3 separate regions of the Homo sapiens genome follow, and regions 1 and 2 are each linked to region 3. Evidence: promoter capture Hi-C in human tissues and cell types (Jung and others, 2019). All regions are on one chromosome and are shown on one strand. The core of a region is centred on a gene start or on the middle of the fragment in contact, and the rest is flanking DNA. Distances in the headings are between cores, read along the strand shown. Region 1 has its middle 33 kb from the start of MAP2. Region 2 has its middle 60 kb from the start of MAP2. Region 3 holds the start of MAP2 (microtubule associated protein 2).

What was found. The method cuts DNA at HindIII sites, captures the fragments that hold promoters and counts their contacts. A contact is called where the count stands out against the background at its distance.
Region 1: a contact is called between a fragment that was not itself captured here and the fragment with the promoter of MAP2 in region 3, in 1 of the 25 tissues and cell types used here (hippocampus).
Region 2: a contact is called between a fragment that was not itself captured here and the fragment with the promoter of MAP2 in region 3, in 3 of the 25 tissues and cell types used here (H1 embryonic stem cells, aorta and hippocampus).

The regions. Positions count from the first base shown.
Region 1 is chr2:209,388,924-209,392,194 of GRCh38, forward strand. No RefSeq gene overlaps it. Among named protein-coding and RNA genes, the nearest start is that of MAP2, 33 kb to the right of the region's middle. The HindIII fragment of the contact is 3,846 bases long and covers 1-3,271 here.
Region 2 is chr2:209,362,312-209,365,687 of GRCh38, forward strand. No RefSeq gene overlaps it. Among named protein-coding and RNA genes, the nearest start is that of MAP2, 60 kb to the right of the region's middle. The HindIII fragment of the contact is 5,849 bases long and covers 1-3,376 here.
Region 3 is chr2:209,421,825-209,425,555 of GRCh38, forward strand. It overlaps MAP2 (microtubule associated protein 2), which reads left to right and starts at 2,223. Exons shown (of 16, transcript NM_001375505.1): 1 at 2,223-2,452. RefSeq lists a silencer at 1,904-2,293. The HindIII fragment of the contact is 7,301 bases long and covers 1-3,731 here.

The DNA.
Region 1 (3,271 bases), core at 587-3,086, 33 kb before region 3:
TTTCTAGGGTGAAGAGTGGAGGCAGGGGGCTTGAAGGAGCTGGAGATGCTTTTACGGCTTTTTAACACAGGCATTCTTACTTCAAGCTCCATAGTGAGACTATTGTCAGCTTGACAACCCTTAACAGAATTTTTTTCAGACTGCTTTAGCATCATTGATTGCAGAATAGCATTTAAAAGGTGACCTCCTGAAACAGTCAGCGGTCAATGTCAAATGCTTTAGAGGTAGAGCTTCTGTTCTGAGAGTCTGCACTAACCATGTTTTGGAAGGTAAGCAAATTGGTGAAATCTTTTACTAACCGAGTGCAGCTGACTCCACTGTTTCCATGGAAACCTATCTCAGGCAAGGTATTCCAAAGGCTCTTTATTTAAGAAATATCAAATAGCCCCAGGGAGTCACTAGTCCTGTCAGACCGCTATACCCACAATAGCAAAGATTATCCCCTGCCCGTCAGAAGGGGATAATCCTTCCTTTGGTTTCATGACTTTCTGACACCTCTTGAGAGCAATAAAATTCCATCCCGAAGCTTTCTCTTCATTTTTCTTTCTTGAAGCTAATAGAGTATTCAGAGTACAAAGCAGGAGGAAATCAGGGCTGAAGGATGCAGGCATTCTGCCTATAGTGCCTCTATTTACTTACGTGAGCTGTCTGGAAATATTAAACACAAAGATTCAGAAGGCTTAGGTTTTAATCACTCCTGCTTACTGCTTACAGTAATACTTGAGTCTTGGGTTCTTCCTTTTTAGAATAACAGAATTGAACAGGATTATCTCAAAGGATCTTCAAGTTACCAACTGAAAAATATGATGCCATGTTCTATCTGACAATAAGACTTTTTATATAAACTGATATCCCTTAGAGGATACCAAGAGCAAAGCTGAAGTTCTAAGAATCTAGTTAGCACTGCACCAGGTTGCTGTGCATTGTATAACATTTTCATTTTGAAACAACCTAAGGATATATTTTTATCCTGCATGGACCACTTTGTTGGGATTTAGAAGGATTAGCTTTCTAATTCTACATTAAAAACAAACAAACAAAAAACTGTAATTCTTGGGCTGGGCGTGGTGGCTCATGCCTGTAATCCCAGCAATTTGGGAGGCCGAGGTAGGTGGATCACCTGAGGTCAGGAGTTGGAGACCATCCTGGCCAACATAGTGAAACCCTGTCTCTACTAAAAATACAAAATATTAGCTGGGTGTGGTGGCGGGTGCCTGTAGTCCCTTGGGAGGTTGAGGAGAATCATTTGACCCCTGGAGGCGGAAGTTGCAGTGAGCTGAGATTGCGCCATTGCACTCCAGCCTGAACTACAAGAGCGAAACTCCGCGAGGCGAGTGGATCACAAGGTCAGGAGATCGAGACCATCCTGACTAACACGGTGAAACCCTGTCTCTACTAAAAATACAAAAAATTAGCCAGGCTTGGTGGCGGGCGCCTGTAGTCCCAGCTACTCAGGAGGCTGAGGCAGGAGAATGGCGTGAACCCGGGAGAAGGAGCTTGCAGTGAGCCGAGATCGCACCAGTCCACTCCAGCCTGGGCAACAGAGCAAGACTCCATCTCAAAAACAAAACAAAACAAAAAACAAGTAACTCTTTTTAGTGCTGATCACTGTATATTCATCATTTCCTTTGGCAAATGTAAGAAAGTTAGAAAGCACCAGCACATCTAATTTTGCATAGCAGGAAATGACATTAAATCTGAACTCTGCTCATTTGTTCTCCATAACATCCCTGACTTCTGCCTTGGGCCTCCCTATGATAGAGTAATGTTATCCAGTAGATAAAAGGGTGTGTTCCTGGGATCTGACAACCTGGTTTCCATTCCTGAATCTGTCCCTTCTGGACTCTTAGAACTTGGGCAGCTTCCATATTCTCTCTGACCTCAGTTTCCACATATATGACATAGAAATAAAAATAGTACTTCCATCATAGAGTTGTAAAAAATAAATAAACTAATATTTATGAAGCATTCAGTAGTGCCTGACTACAATAAGCACTCAATAAATATTAACTATTACCACTTAATCATTTCACTATACCACTATTTCACTATACCCTATTCCTTAGGGTACCATTTAGTGCTCTAAAGTGCTTATTTACTTGATAATAGTCGAGTTGCCCAAATGTGTTTTGCCTCCAAAGTAAGCAGTTCATTGTTTACCTAATTGCCTAATGGACTCTAACATATTTTAATTTGTTTGGTTAATAATAAAACCATATAAGAAGGCATTATTCTTATCATTTAAAAAGTTATTAGAAAAAATTAATGTATATATTGAATGTGGAAAGCTTATTAAATTCACTTCTTTGAAAATATGCTCAACTTATTAACATTTATGTTAGTTATTATTTTAAAAAGCAGTAAAAACAAAACTTTCCTATGCTTTTTCAAACAAACTTTTTTTAGTCTATACAGAGTCAAACAGCTTTTTGATATATCTCAGTAAAATTCAGACATCTAGATCGTTCTATGTTAGTTTTCAAGTACATTCAATTTTACAAGACATTCTCGTCTTTTTTCTTCGTTCTCTCCCTCATTCTTTGTGGTTTTACCCTTTTTAAATTCTTCAATAAACAAAACTAACTAAAATTGTTCAAAGGTGACTTCAGCTATCTAGACCTTTGGTAACTAAAAGTTTTAGGAACCCAAAGGAGAATTTTCTTCCATTAAGCCACTTACCACAAGAATATTTGTATATTTATGTATTTAAATTTATCTGTTTGATTTTGAACCTATTTTATAAATAGATGAAAAGTGCTATTTTATTTAACAATAAATTTGCTATGTAAAGTTTAAAAAACTTTTTGCAAAGTGAATTGTTAGTGTCATCAATTTTTTTTCTACAATACATAATGAATTTCTTTTAAGCAAATTCCATTCGGACTTTTCCATCTCCAATAGGGGCACAATCAGGCCAACTGCAGCAGGAATGCAGCAAGATATTTGGAAGCCTTTCTACATCGTTGTGACTGGCAAACTGTAGGATGCTTTACTAAGGCAGAAAATTCTTTCTCTGAAGTTTTTAGGAACAGGATGAGTAACTTCTCTGGGAACACTGCCATCCTGAAATCTGAAGGACAGACTGGAATTTCCAGATTATTTAATACAGTTCCATGTCACATGCTTATCAAACTTTGCCTTCATTGATGGCCTGCCTCTTACAAAAGAGTGAAATAATCAAAATGTGCTTTGCTTGCCTTTTTCTACAATGTAGTGTTACTCATAATATTACCTGAATCCTTACAGAACAACTGGTGCTCTCATCTTCCAA
Region 2 (3,376 bases), core at 710-3,209, 60 kb before region 3:
AGATTACTACCAGAATACCAAAATTTGTCATTATGAAAGAGGATGTTATATCTTCCCACTAAAGACGAATTATGATTTCATGTTTACCTTTTAATCCTTGCTAGACATTCATCCTTGTTTTGGAGTAAGTGCAATGGTAATTGAAATTTGTCCAATACCACAGAGTTAGTAACCAGTAGACTTGTGATTAGCAATGGTGGTATTAGGAAAGAAAGAAGCTGCCAAAAGTAAGAGGGGTACAGGGTTTTGACTTGATACTAGGAGGCTAAAAACAAAAAAGCTCATTGCGAATGACTTGCATTTAAAAAGAGAAAAATAATGACTTCATTTTTATTAAGAAACCTGGCAGGCGCCACCTTAACCAAGTGATTGGCTCCTCTAGTTTCACTGAAAGTTTTGATCCCTCTCCTCAACCTGCATGTTATCAATGCCTGCGGATCTGTCTTTAGCAACACAAAACAGCTGCTCCTGTCACTAAATTAAAATCTTAAACACTTTGTTGCTAATTCTCATTAAAATTTTGACTGTGACAAATAATCTTATTTGGGACTTAGTGGCTCATTGCTAATGACTAGAGTTTAAAAAGCTAAAAATAATTACTTCATTTTTATTAAGAAACCTGGCAGGCACCACCTTAACCAAGGGATCAAGATTAACATCACCTGTCCTAAGATATACTGCTATATATCATGTATCTCTGATATATATATCACAAAACGCTTTATGATTGACAATTAGTGCATAGCTTTACTGCAGATATTTATCATCTTGGCTTGTTATCACTAAAAAGGACACATCACTTCCATTATATTTTTTCACAAAATTAATATCCTCATGCTAACCATTTAAAAAATCAGGTAAACCCAATTGAGGGACATTCTACTAAATACTTGACCACTATTCTTTAATGTGTCAAGGTAATAAAAGGTGAGAAAAGGCTAAGAAACTGTCATAGATCAGAGGAGACTAAAGAGACATGACAACTAAATGAAATGTGGTACCCAGGACTGAGTTCTGGATCAAAAAAGACATTAGTGGCGAAACTGGGGAACTTCAAATAAAGTCTATAATCAGTAGTAGTACATCCATATAAAATTCTTAGTTTTGATAAATGTACCATAGTTATGTAAGATGCTAACACTAGGGGAATTTGGGTAAGGAGTAAATTGGAATTATTGCAGTTTTTCTATAAGTCTAAAAAAAGTTAAAATAAAATCTAAAACATTTAATTTAGGTATGCTCACACAAATTTTTATAAACAAATAAATTTCTATAGCAACATTACTAACATGAATCAAACTCTAATGTCCATGAATCACTCTACTGCCTATTAACAGTAAAAAGAATAAATATACTGTTACAGTTATACAATGGAATACTATTCACTAATAAAAAATAGACTATAATATGGATGAATATCATAAATATTATGCTGAGAAAATGAGACAAACACCAAAAAGTAATTATTGACCAATTCTATTAATAAGAAATTATAGAATAAGCAGAACTAATCTATAATGATAGATACCATATAAGTGGTTGCCTGGGGCTTATGGTACTGGGAGGGGGTGCGGTTATTGACCAGAAAGAAATTGACTATGGAGTAACTATTTGGATGTGATGAATATATTACATACCTTGACGGTAGATGGACTCCATGGGCAACTACATTTATCAGAACTTTCTGAACTGTACACTTAAAATGAGCTCTTTTTTATTGTATTTAGATGATGTCTTAATAAAGTTGATTTAAAATTCAAAAAATATGATCATCAAGAGAGTTAGTTAAACATGCTTTGTTAATTCCTCATAATGGCATAGCACGGTCACGATTTCTGGTGTACAAATGCACTTGGGTGCTCTTTTTTTTCTTTCTTTCAAATTTGGCATGGACCCAGAACTATTTTCTGAAGAAAAATCCTCTGCTACCTCAGTACTGAGAGGAAGTGGCCATCTGTCCAGATAACTGTCCTGATTGGCATCTCCAATTTCACTCAAAGTTTTGATCTGTCTCCTCAACCTGCATATTATCAACGCCTGTTCTGTCCTTAGTTAGCAACACAAAACAGCTGCTCTTGTCGCCAAATTTAAATCTGAAACATTTTGTTGCTAATTCTCATTAAAATTTTTACTGTGACAAATAATCTTATTTGGGACATTGCCAGAATAATAAGTGGTTATTCTGTTTATCTAGAAGTATAAATTCTTTGGTCTTCCTAAATTTGCTTTTAATAAATTATATAATACTTCGACATAAGACCATCAGCTTGGGTTGAGAAAGCTACTAGGGAGAATACATAAAACTCAATACTTAACTACTCAACATTTAACTACTCATTCAGCTTTTTAAAACACTTCATTTATGATGTGAAGTTTGAGGTTCCTGTCAGAAACCCAAGTGGATATGTAAAGCCAGGAATGAAGTATGTTAAGTTCCAAGAAGTATATTGTTTTAAATGGGGAAGAGGCTGCGCACAGTGGTTCACACCTATAATCCCAGCACTTTGGGAGGACAGGGTGAAAGGATCACTTGAAGCCAGGAGCTCAAGAGCAGTCTGGGCAACATAGAGAGACCCTGTCTCTACAAAAAAAATTTAATAATTAGCTGGATGTGGTGGCACAAGATTTGCAGCGATAAACAAAGGTCATCTTACGAAAACCAAAACAATGAGCTTGGACGATTTTCTGTATGCAACAGTAGTCCCAGCTACTAGGGAGGCTGAAGCAGGAGGATGACTTGAGCCCAGGAGTTCAAGGCTGCAGTGAGCTATGATCACCACTGCACTCCAGCCTGCACAACAGAATGAGACCATGTCTTATTAAAAAAAAAATAATAATCAGGGATAATAGGCCACATGCTGTATTTAACAAGTAAGGAGGCACTGGTACTGACCAATCAGGAGAAACAGCCCCAGAGTATTGCAGCAGGTATTGAAGATTCCCCCACCCCTGCTGCACCAGTTTTCATCACTGGCTCCTGGAGGGAGAGGATAAAGATTAGCAGAGACTTCTGAGAGAGGGTCCACAGCAGAAATGGGTAAAGAGAAAGCATTCAAAGCGGTGGCTATTTACCAATCAGTAAGAAGGTATGATATTTCAACATTTTAACAACCAGGATGCCTGTACTAATGCATACTAGCTGAATATCAATCCTGAATGCAATTGATCATTATATCAGGAAATAGCTTATTATGAAGATTGTTGGGGAAAATTTCTTTCAGAACAATGGAAATTTATATAGTTCTTAAGCATCTGGCTTTTTTTCTAATTGCACTTGCTATTTTATTTTTTATTTTTGTGGGTACATAGTGGGTATATATATTTATGGGGTGCATGGCATATTTTGATACAGGCATATCCCTTGGATATACTGAAT
Region 3 (3,731 bases), core at 973-3,472:
CTCCTCATTCCTGGTAAAGCCTCCTCTCTAGCACTCCCCAGCCTGAGAGTGGTAGTACTTTCCTGCTAGTAACTATCATCGTGTTGCCTCATCATCCCCTAGTTGGCTTTTTAGTCATTTGAATCCTTTGTAATTTGTTCCCCATATTAAATTCTCTCTATTGAATTACAACATATAGATGCTATTTTTCTGAAAGAACTCTAAGATGTGTGTCGAGAGGAGGCAATCTCCCATATAAGGACCAGGTTCCCCAAAGAGAAAAGCCATTAGAGTTTGGCTGCCTCAGCTAATCTTAAAGTGGAGGAAAAAACAAACAAACAAACAAACAAACAAAAACAAAAAGTGCTGAGGAACACTGTACTTTAAACTATCAGAGAAATAATGTCTTTTTTATTGCTGTTTTTTAGAGACAGGGTCTCACTCTGTCACCCAGGCTGGAGTGCAGTGGTGTAATCATAACTCACTGCACCCTCAAACTTCTGGCTTCAAGCGATACTCCCTCCTGAGCTGCTGGGATTACAGGTGTGAGCCACCGCTCCTGGCCCTGGAAAATTACTCTCATTGAGCACCTGCGCCTGCATGCCTGGTCATGAATGTCAGCTGCTAACACTCTGGTAGCATGCCTACTCCTTCCTCCCATCCACATACTGTCTATGATTTCCTAGTCTCCTAAGACCTCCTTCTCAGTAAGGCCATCTTCCGAGGAGGAGCATCAACTCCTCCAACCTCCCAGCTCCTGGGTGTGCCTTGATACTTCCAAACTCACTGCAAGCGTCACTGGCACATGGTATGAAGCAGAGCGGGGGAGGCAGGACACAGAGCACTGGGTGTGACTGGGGAGGGCAGGCTTTCACAGCTTCCTCTGTGATGGTTTCTAATCCTTGCAGGCTCCCACCATTGGGTCTCTTTCCATCTGAAAATGGAGGAAATTAGACCAGCTGCCTAAAACATCAACTCTAATGTTCTAGGTTCTAAGATTCTGTGGTTAATTTAAGTGACAGAACCACATTATGGCTGCTGTTTCATCAGCACTGTGAAGACTGTACAAGCCACACCTCAGTATGTTGGCTGACCTTAAAAACACCTTGTCAGTACTTGATATAGACACTCGAAGTAATTCTAAGTTGCATCTTACTTTTCTTACTTACAATAAAATGCTGCTCTCTGATTATGAAGATTCATACTCCTTAGTACGAATGGTAAAGAATCATTTGTTTTCTCAGGTGGTCATTTCACTTTCAAAAGCATTTAAGAGGCAATTTTTTTAAGGGTGATATTTCAAGGTCAACACTTTCCGTGCTTTCTAATTCATTGTATTTGTATCATTCTTCAAAGATCCTTCATATTCATTATCTTTTTAAGCATAAGAGAATTGGGCTGTCATTTTTAGTTCTCATATGACACATGAATACACTGAGAGTTAGATTAAGTGAACTGTCTCTAGAGCATACGTCTGGCTATCTAGAATGTAATAACTATAAAGGGAGGGGATCTTTCTTATTAGGGTTGTGGGAAAGGTCTGTCACTGATGTTTCTAATGCTTAGAAGAGTGCCTGACACATAGTAGGTGTCAATAAACATTCGTTGACTCAATAAATGAATGAATCTAATTCGTGACAGAGCTGGGTCTAGAATTCTCTACTCCCTCAGCCATTGCTCCTTTAGTGCTGACAAGAGTTGTTCTATGTTCTCAAGCGCCCCACATTCCTTTGTCTTTTCTGGATGCACCTGTGGTTGGGTTTGTGAGGCGAGGCCAGTGAGCTTTCCTGGTGAGGTGCCACTGGCAACCCCGCCTCATAGCGACACAGGGGAGGGAAGCAGGGGGTCTGCGGAGGTTGCTCCCGAGAGACTAAAGCTGTTGCCCCCGATTTTCCAAGGACGCCAGTGAGGAAGGCCCGCCTGTCCCGCCGCCCGGGCACTGGCCTCACTTTGTCGCGGGAGGGGACCAGGGCTCTGGAGAAGGCCCGGGCCAGCGGCTGGGCGGGGCTCTCCGAGGCTCCCACCTCGCGGTCCCCGCCTGGCGGCCGGCGGCTGCGGCAGAAGGCGAAGCGGTCGTGCTCCCCCTCCCGGACACTGCGGCGGTGGCAGCGCCAGCCCCGCCGCGGCCGCCCACGGGCTCGCGGAGTCTGGCGGGACCTGCGCGGGGCGGGACCTGCGCGGGGCGGGGAGGAGGGGCCGAGGCGGAGCTGCTGCGCTGGGAGCCGGCTGGGGGCGCCGCTCTCAGTCTGGGGCGGGCGCTCGGGCTGCGCGGGCTCTGGGCAGCAGCAGCAGCAGCAGCAGCATCCTCTCTTCCTTTACTTCCCTTCCGCTTCTTTCTCTTCCTTCTCCTTCTTTTTCCCCCCCCTCCCCTTCTTCCCCTAACCCTTCTACCCCTCTCCTTTTTCTCCGGAGGGCGCTAAGTCCGTGAGCGGTGGCAGTCGCGACCGCGGGTGCATCCAGTTTCTGCGCCCAGGTAAGAGACCGTCCCCACCTCTGGCTCTATGTAGGGCGCCTCTCCTTTTGCCTCGGTCTCTGAGTAGAAAGAGATAGGAATGGGGAGGGGTTGTGTCTCGTCCTCTGGGACTCGCAGCAGGCAGTCTGGTAGTTGGTCGAGTGGCCAGCCGTGCACCTGGCGGAAGATTCGGGCCTGTCCTCTCCAGGTGTCACTGCGGAGCAGGGGGCCGGACGCTACTGGTACCTGAGCCCTGGCTTCGTAGAAGAGCGAGTGAGCTTGTTAGGTACCACTTTGAAACAACTGAAAACTTACGCCAGGTTAGAATACGTGTATCGAAAGCCAGTATTACCTGCGCTGTGGAAAGAAGGGGAGTGGATTCTACAAAGATAGTGGAAAATAGGAAATCGAGGTAGGGGATTTTTTTGTTCATCCAGCTGCAGAGAACTGCACACTGGGAAGTGAGTGAGTGAGGGAAGCCTTGTCCATTTCAAATCATGTTTCTCTGTAATTCCTTCAGAAACAGCTGGGAGAGGAGGACTGATATTTATAATTGTAGGAAAATGAAAAATAAATGCCTGGTGGTGTTGGAGGGCGGGGCACGAAGAAATGAGTCTGGTTAGGCTTCCACACAGTCGTTTTTCTTTTTAAACGTTGGGGGTGGACCTCTGAATCTACAGTGCATCTATTCTTTTCTTCCTTTTCTTTTTAAAAGGCTTTTTTGGTGGGGAGAGGAGGACTGCAGTGCTGGCTGCCTGCCTTCCCCCACCTCGTCTTTTGTTTAAGGATGGAAATTTCAAGAAAGAGTGTGTGGGGGGCTAGGAGTGGGGAGCTGTATATTTGGGTGTGTATAGGGGGAGGGGTATGGATGGAGTCAGAAAAAAAATCCTTGAAAACTGGAAATTAATGTTATTCTGCCTGGCATCCGGACTTCAGGATTTTTGTCAGAAAATAAAAAGCTTTCATTAGCAACAAGCCCGTTTGTGACAATTGCTGTGTGCCATCTGTCGTAAGCTCTTAGCACAATGCTTCCAGGACATAGACGCTTTAAAATTGAGTCCGGTGTAAAGGGTTTTTGTTTAAATGCCTAAACACACAAGTATGCACACAAATGTATAATACACTATATACATGTTACAAAAGGAAATAGGTACTTAAGAGACTGATTTTTTAAAATTGTATTTGAGGGTTTGGAAATTATGTTGTGAATAAAATCTGTAGTGCAAAACAAAAAAATATTGTTGGGTGGTATATAATTTTGGGTGTGAGGCAAAGGGATTGATGACTGTTGGTAAGGAAC